2 separate regions of the Homo sapiens genome follow, and region 2 is linked to region 1. Evidence: promoter capture Hi-C in human tissues and cell types (Jung and others, 2019). All regions are on one chromosome and are shown on one strand. The core of a region is centred on a gene start or on the middle of the fragment in contact, and the rest is flanking DNA. Distances in the headings are between cores, read along the strand shown.

Evidence for each region. The method cuts DNA at HindIII sites, captures the fragments that hold promoters and counts their contacts. A contact is called where the count stands out against the background at its distance.
Region 2: a contact is called between a fragment that was not itself captured here and the fragment with the promoter of RPP30 in region 1, in 1 of the 25 tissues and cell types used here (mesenchymal stem cells).

Annotation. Positions count from the first base shown.
Region 1 is chr10:90,870,663-90,875,235 of GRCh38, forward strand. RPP30 (ribonuclease P/MRP subunit p30) reads left to right here and starts at 1,312. Exons shown (of 11, transcript NM_006413.5): 1 at 1,312-1,406; 2 at 4,207-4,262. The coding sequence starts at 1,325. RefSeq lists enhancers at 1,150-1,444, 1,163-1,432, 1,563-1,622. The HindIII fragment of the contact is 15,308 bases long and covers 1-2,287 here.
Region 2 is chr10:89,573,032-89,577,260 of GRCh38, forward strand. No RefSeq gene overlaps it. Among named protein-coding and RNA genes, the nearest start is that of MIR107, 18 kb to the right of the region's middle. The HindIII fragment of the contact is 3,395 bases long and covers 847-4,229 here.

The DNA.
Region 1 (4,573 bases), core at 62-2,561:
TGAACTGTTTGTGATCAGTAAATAAGAGAAATTGATGGGTGAAGCATGTGGGTGGGCTCCTGTAATCACAGCTAGGAGAGAGGATTGCTTGCGTTAGAGTCCATCCTGGTCAATAACGAGATACTCTCTCTAAAAACAAAACAAAACGAAACGAAAACTCAGCAGGCCACCAACTAGGATACTCCCTAGGTCAAATGACCGAGCCTCTAATTCTGTGATTGTTGTTGCTGTGCGCACGTTAATAAAACAAACAAACAAACAAAAAGTGAAGATGTTTAGAAAGTTTACAGTACTTTGGCATTGTCCTGATAATCCAAGCTCCTGATCAGCAGATTCTATTCAGCCAGGTATAGGGCAGTTCGAGTGTTGTCAAATTTGTGATTCCCATGAGGCCAGGCTGCTTACTGGTAATGCATAAAGGACCACATCCTGGTTCGCGAAGAGTTTGGGGGTAGAGGAAAAGGAGGGAGAAACTGATCCTTCATCACAGGTAGTTTGAGAGCACTGATGTAAACTATAGTCACACTTTTGTAGTATAATTGATTATTATCCTCAATAGATCATTTACACTAAGTCGGAAAAAAGTGGAAACATCAGATATGTGGGATATGCGTCACCTTGTACATTTCTCAGCTGGAAAAGTGTAAAACATCTCAATTTTGCACCTCCCTTTTCAAACATGTCTTTGGCTAAATCAATGTTGGCTCTAACCGCTCGTCCTAGAGCGAGTCCCGCCATCTTGTGGTTGAAGATGTTGACTGCCACAGAGAATAGCGGGCTTTGACATCAACAGTTCTGATTGGGTAAAAAGACCCTCGTCTTGGGGTAGTTCTCTTTTGAAGTCCTAGAGTCCGTCACACACAAACGCCTTCTTCCCGGTAAGTCCATTGTAAACAACGGAATGGACTTTAGGGAAAGGAAAGGAAAACGTGTTCTTTAAGACTCTTTAAATAGCGTTTTCACCCATTAGCAGAATTCTCTGATTCATGAGCAGCACTAAGTAGATACCGTGTGCGTGCATTTTGAATGAATTCATTTCTACACTATTTTATAGGAGTATTGAATAGTTGGGAATTGGAACCCCTCCAGGGGGAACCAAACATTGTCGTTCAGAAGAAGACAAAGAGAGATTGAAATGAAGCTGTTGATTTCAACACACAAATTCTGGTGGTAGATGAAAGCAAAGCAAGTAAGTTTCTCCGAATCCCTAGTCAACTGGAGGTAGAGACGGACTGCGCAGGTTAACTACAGCTCCCAGCATGCCTGAGGGGCGGGCTCAGCGGCTGCGCAGACTGGCGCGCGCGGACGGTCATGGGACTTCAGCATGGCGGTGTTTGCAGATTTGGACCTGCGAGCGGGTTCTGACCTGAAGGCTCTGCGCGGACTTGTGGAGACAGCCGCTCACCGTGAGTTGCCCCGGCTTCGCGCCTGGCCAACCTCATGCCACCCAGACCATCGGGCCACACTCCGGAGTAACTATTTCCTGATGGGTCTCGGTCAGGTCTCCCAGAGTCTCTGGGATGTCCCTGGAGGCTGATGCCCGCCGAGGTGTTGGTCTGATTCCTAGCGCGGGAAACTCGAAGGTTCTGGGGGTTGTTATCTGGTTCAGCTACTTTCCTGCAATGAGGGAACTGAGGCCTAACGAGGGCGAGGGATTTGCATAGGGGCCTACAGCTGATAGGTGACAGAAGCCGGAGCTGGACTCCAAGGGTACAATCTTCTAAGCTTCTAAGTTACTATCAGCCCTTCCTGATTCTCACGACAGTGTCTAAACAAATACTGGAATTTGGGGCACGGACAGGAAGCGCCGTGGAGGCTCGGAGAAGGAGGAGGACGTGGGAGTGTTGGAACAATACTATCTAGACAGAGAGAGGGTAGGTGGGGGCAGAGGACATACACAGCGGAGTGGAGGTGGAGGAGGAGGATAGCATGGCCCAAATCGAAGGGAAGCGAAAGCCTTGAGAGACGAGAACCTGTTTTAACTATTGGAGTTAGTCATGGGTTCTGTATTCCGTAGACTGTAAAGTGTTGGAATAGAGAGATTAAAAAGAATCAAGAGGTTCGTGTAGTAACATCTGCTCCTCAGAGACAGTTTTCAGCTCATTGTGAGTTCTGATTACTGATACTGTTCAGAGGTGGTGCTAGAAATGACAACCACTTCTTGGCAAAGTGAATCACACCACTTTTTTATTGTTCTCTTTATGAAGTATCCGTGGCGAAATGACTGTCCCTTTCCACTGCTGCCACTAAATGAACGTTATCTCTGTGGTACTTTGCTCATCAGCACGAAGACGAAAGTAGACATGATGATCTGGGCCATTTGGCGCTAATGTTCTTTGATCCTGTAAAATAAGTTTTCCTAGGTGTAGTTTGTCGCAATTATTACCTCCTCAATGAGGCTTTTCCTGACGCCATCCCATTTTTGAATAAATCATGAGCTTCCTAAGAGAATTGCCATGTCTTATCCTTTTATTTACTGTGCTTAACACGTTCACTCTGCAGGCACCAGTACATGGCAGTTACTCAGTTAATGCTTGTGGAATAAACTGAACACATTAAAAAAATTAATACAAAAAAGAAAAGTTAATAATGATTTCTTTAGAGAATTTCCCCCAGTTTAAAATACACTTGGAAGAGGTGTGGTAATATATGTACATTGTTAGTGGTTATTTGTTTGTAAATTAAATGGAATTCATGGCATATAAAGTTGCCTCAACTTACAAGTCAAAGACAAAGGACTGCTCTGCTATTTGATGAGTCTGGAACTAAATAGTGGACATTTGCAAAGAATAGGAAAGACAGAGCCCTGGTTCTCAGTTTCTGATGTGATACAAGAAACCAATAATAAGCTTCAGAAATATACTGTGTAAATTAAAATACCCTAAAGCCTGATTGGGGAAGTAAGTACTCCTAAGCTGCCAGATGAGGAGTAGTCTAGGAAAAAGTTTTGTGGAGAAACAGATCCTAGTTGACATTTCTGTAGAACGGTAGGGACATTGTTTAGTAGCCAAAAGGATATCCTAAATGGGTATAACAAGGAAGTTTAGAGCAGATTTGGGAGTGTGGTAAAGAAGAATAGGGAGGAGGTGTGGCTGGTTGATTTGACTAACTGGGTGCAAGGTGAAGCCCAAGGTACAGGCATACTTGTGATTTTTTTTTTGTTTTTAAGGGTAACTTTCTTCAGGGAGCCTTTTGTGACCCCTACACCAGGTTTCACTGTGCTATGTACTTCCATAGAATCCTTACTTATAAAAAACATGTATTTATATACAATGACTTGCTTAATTGCCTTATTTGCCTTCGTTCTCCAACAGACTAGGCTGTAAATTTCTTGTGGAGAAGGATTATATTATTTATCCTGTATGCTCAACACCAGTTTAGGGCTTGTCAAGTAATGGATGCTCAGTAAATATTTGAGGGAGGAAGGGAAGAAGGAAGTTGGACAAACTGTTGAGAGTTTGGCATTGATATGTATTTTAATGTTAATATCCTTTCATCCCCATTGGTATTTTTAAAAATTAAAGATGGGAGTCATGATTTAGATTTTTTTTTGGTAGCCCAAATGTCCAGAACAGTGCTAACTGATGAGGATAATAAAGCAAGCCCTTGACCTCAAGGAGCTCCCAGTCTGTCGATGGTGTGCAGCTTAAAATGGGAAGCGGGCAGTGGTGTGAGGGAGTTATCACTCCATTTCTCCTTAGGAAAGGAGTCTCTGAAGGAAGTAGAAGGATAAAAAGCAAAAGAAATGAACGGGAATAAAAGTGACAGTGATAAAGTAGGAACTTGATGGGATAAAAATGAATATAGGGTCATGAAAGAGAATGACATTTGAAAAGGAGAAGCACAAAGTTAAGAGTCTTTAGTATCATTTTAATAATAATTCATAATGGTTAAACAAAGACCTGTGTGCCAGGCACTGTTCTCAAACACCTCATGTGTATTATTTCATTTAAATTTCATGACAGTGTATGAAGAAAGTGTTGTTATTTTCACCATTTGACAGATGAGGAACCTGAAACTTCATGTTAAGTAACTTGTAAGTGGTAGTGCATAGACTTTAAATCAGGCAGACTGACACTAGAGTTCACATTCATAACCACTCCTCAAATGTCCTCCTACTCTTGACATCTAGACTCAGGATGGACCTGTGTTACAGGAAGGAGAGGTTGTTATATTTAACAAAAGTGTTCAATTTTTCTTTTTCAGTTGGCTATTCAGTTGTTGCTATCAATCATATCGTTGACTTTAAGGAAAAGAAACAGGTAAAATAATATTTCTAAAGTTAATAAGTTCATAAATAAGTATTTGTAATTCTGTTTGTATTGGTAATTTGGAAGCTACAGATTAGAATATTTCTTAAATGCACCCCTTTGTGCACTACTACTTTTCTATTTTATATAGAAACAGTCGAGCTGATGCATATTTATACAATGATGATTTTTGTGAGGTAATATGACATAGTGTTCAGGATTCTTAAAGGTGATTTGAAATTAAGTTACTTTTCACTGTTCAAAAAGTGCATTGTTATTGGCTGGACTGTAATCAAAATATTTAGTCCTTTTTATTCTATTGT
Region 2 (4,229 bases), core at 1,294-3,793, 1.3 Mb before region 1:
TTTTTTTTTGTTCTGTTTTGTTTTGTTTTTGTTTGTTTGCTTGTTTGTTTTTGAGACAGAGTCTCGCTCTGTCGCCCAGGCTGGAGTGCAGTGGCACAATCTTGGCTCACTGCAAGCTCTGCCTCCTGGCCTCACGCCATTCTCCTGCCTCAGCCTTGCAAGGAGCTGGGACTATAGGCACCTGCCACCACGCCTGGCTAATTTTTTTGTGTTTTCAGTAGAGACGGGGTTTCACCGTGTTAGCCAGCCTGGTCTGAATCTCCTGACCTCGTGATCCGCCCACCTCAGCCTCCCAAAGTGCTGGGATTACAGGCGTGAGTCACTGCGCCGGGACCCCATATGGTAGCTTTGTAAAGGGCAGGGTCAAGGCCCAGTTCTCACACTCACAGAAGCTCTGGGTTGGGAAGGATATTAAAGGTCACTTCTGGTCCAAGCTCTACCTCTCCATCCAGTGCCAGGTCAGAACTTGTGAAAGTTCAATGCAGGTTAATAATTTGGCACCTTTTTTACTGATATTCTCCAAATAGTTGTTCAACATTTATTTAGAAGTTTAAAAATTAGAATAATAGCAAAAAGTGTAATTTTCACTTCTCAAACTTGGTAGGTTTATTTTGGGAGTGGCCTTGAACCTATTTTGCAACTACTCCTTAGTAATTAAAATGAACTTCTCCTGAGTTGAAATGCAAGATGCAGTTAATGCTTCCAAAGTCTCTTCTGCAGGACTGGATCAATGAATAAAAACTGACACTAAAACATAAGTAGCAATTATTCAATAATTAATACTAATGAATTACTAAATCTCTACATCTTAAAAGTTTGAATACCAGTGTATTTAGAATTTGTTTGGCTTCCAAAAACTATGCATGCCATGGTGTTTTATTTTAAAACTTCAAATCCTAACACTATATACCTTTTTTAAAGTGTTAATTTCTCATTTCTTTTTCTTTTTTTTCTTTTTTCTGAGACGGAGTCTTGCTCTGTCACCCAGGCTGGAGTGCAGTGGTGCGATCTCAGCTCACTGCTCCTGGGTTCACGCCATTCTCCTGTCTCAGCCTCCTGAGTAGCTGGGACTACAGGCACCCGCCACCACACCTGGCTAATTTTTTTTTGTATTTTTAGTTAGAGATGGGGTTTCACCGTGTTAGCCAGGATGGTCTCAATCTCCCGACCTCGTGATCCTCCCGCCTCGGCCTCCCAAAGTGCTGGGATTACAGGCGTGAGCCACCGCGCCAGGCAGTTAATTTCTAAGTGTGGCTATATCTTCATAAAATCTCTCTCTATGGCCATTAAAATGGATTATGCCATAGATGAAATGGTCCTTAACATTCCATGGACAAAGACCCCTACAGCTTGATTTTGCTGAGATAATCTTCATAGTTAATTAAGGACCACAGAAGACTACCATGAGCAGCTGAGGTCAGACAGGGACTGTAGAAACACAGGCTAAAGGACACGAAGAATTGTGTAATTGACTAAATGTTCAGGGCACAGCCAACAAAACTCAATTGTTCTGGACAACCACACCATTTTCTCTAGAGTTGCTGAAAGTTGTGTGGGTGGGATCTACAGATAATTGCCCCACTTCTCCATTTCATTTTGCCTGTCTAAACATTGTATAAATAACTACTTGATAAATTCAATGTTGATGTTGGCACATGAACAGACAGACAGAAAAGTGACTGCTCATTTTAAAATGTATAAAGCCAATATAAATAGTAAACAAATCTCAAAGGAGAATGCCTAAAAATGTTTAAAATTCACAATAATGTTTAATTTACCAAATTTCAACCCACTTATGGAGCTTAATTCAAAAATACTTTTGGCTTATATTTAAAATAAAGTGACATTTGACAAACTGTTCAAATATTAAGCTTAAAAATGTACTCTTCCTAAATAATAATTTTAATACAAACTCTAGATCCACAACTTGCAGGATTAACTATCTCTTCCCCAATATGCCAAAAACACGTACACATCCAAATATGCATAGAGAATATGAATGCTAGAAAAGTTTAAGAATATATCATGAAAATATATTTCATATGTCAGGATAAATAAGCTTGAGTAGTTAATGAAAAATAATTATTTTAAAGTTTAAGTTGTCTTTAAAATTAAATTTTACATATATTTTCAAGATATATGAGAAGACATACACCACCTACCTCACTATGGAATGTGGTAAAACAAACATAATTTATATCTGTGTCATGGCAGCCAAATGGCATAAATTCTTTAGATGTTGAACTTTGCTAAAATAGCAACAGCAAATTTCATGAACAAAGTGAAGTGGAAGAGAAAAGAGAAGAACAATCCAATACAAAAACTGTCTAATTCTTTCTGGTTGCCTTATAGCCTAAAAGAAAATTTTAAACTCTCCTTAAGCCATAACTGCAAAAAATTTAAAAAGAAAATCCATCTGTTAAAACAAATTACGCAAATGGTATTGAGGCTACTTGAATTTATGTCACAGTGCCCTTAGTATTAACCACACCAACTGTGGGCCACACACGTTTGACTAAATGTGCTTAGTGGTTGATTCCAGAAATGTCATAATTCAAGAAATGTACAAGGAAAAAAACTAGTGGAAAAGCAAAAGTAACAAGTGGAATATTTTACAAAATTGAAAATAATACCACACAGGTCAAAAAAAAAACATCCAATTAACATATATAATTTCAGTTTTGTGCTATATTCCAATGGTTCTTTTCAGTCTTCTAATTTACATTGCTTTTTATATATTTCATTAATATATAGGCATATGTTGGAGAAATTGCAACTTTGTTTTCAGACCCAGGCAATCAAGTCACATGAATTTGTTTCCCAGCAGATGTACATGTTATGTTTAGAATATACTATAGTCTGTTAAGTTTGCAATAGCATTGTGTTAAAAAATATAGATACCTTAATTTCAAAAATACTTTACTGCCAAAAAATGCTAATAATCATCTGAGCCTTTAGCCAGTACTAATTATTTGCTGGTAGAGGGTCTCATCTCAATGTATTTGGCTGCTGACATCAAGGTGGTGGTTGCTGAAGGTTGTGGCAATTTCTTAAAATAGGACAAAAATGAAGTTTGCCACATTTGTTGACTCTTTCTTTCACAAAAGATTTATCTGCAGCATGTGATGTCATGTGATGGCATTTTACCCACAACAGGACTTTCAAAATTGAGGTCAATCCTTTCCAACCCTGCCGATGCTTTATCACCTGAATTTATGCAATATTCTAAATCCTTTGTTGTCATTTCAACAATGTTTACAGTGTCTTCACCAGGGGTAGATTCCATCTCGAGAAACCACTTTCTTTGCTTGTCCGTGAGAAGCAACTCCTCATCCTTTCAAGTTCTATCATGAGACTGCAGAAATTCAGTCATCTCTTCAGGTTCCACTTCTAATTCTAGTTCTCTTGCTATTTCTACCTCATCTTCAGTGACTTTCTCCACTGAAGTCTTGAACCCCTCAAATTCATCCGTGAGGGTTGGAATCCACTTCTTCCAAACTCCAGTTAGTGTTGGCATTTTGACCTCCATCCATGGATCACATATATTCTTAACGGCATCCAGAATAGTAAAACATTTCCAGACAGTTTTCAACTTATTTTGCCTAGACCCATAAGAGGAATCAGTATCTATGGCAGCCATAGCCTTACAAAATGTATTTCTTAAATAATAAAACTTGAACATTGAAATTACTCCCTGATCTGTGGGCTGTAGAATGGATATTGGATTAGCAAGTAGGAAAACATTAATCTCTTTGTACATTTACATCAGAGTTCCTGAGTGACTAGGTGCATTGTCAATGAAAGAAATCTTTTGAAAGGAATCTTTTTTCTGAGAAGCAGGTCTCAACAATGAGCTTAAAATATTCAGGAAACCATGCTATAAATAGATGTGCTGTTATCCAAGCTTTGTTGTTCCGTTTATAGAGCACAGGCAGAGGAGATAAGTCTTAAGGGCCCTAGCATTTTCAGAATGGTTAATAAGCATTGGCTTCACCTTCAAGTCACCAGCTGCATAAGCCTCTAAAAAGAGAGTCGGCCTGTCTTTTGAAATTTTGAAACTACACATTGACTTCTCATGTCTAGTTAGGAAAGTCCGAGGTCGTCTTTTCTTCTAATAGAAAGCTGTTTTGTGTACATTGAGAATCTGTTGTTTAGTGTTACCACCTTCATCAATGATCTTTGCTACATTTTCTGGATAACTTACTGCTTCACCTTGTACTTTTATGTTA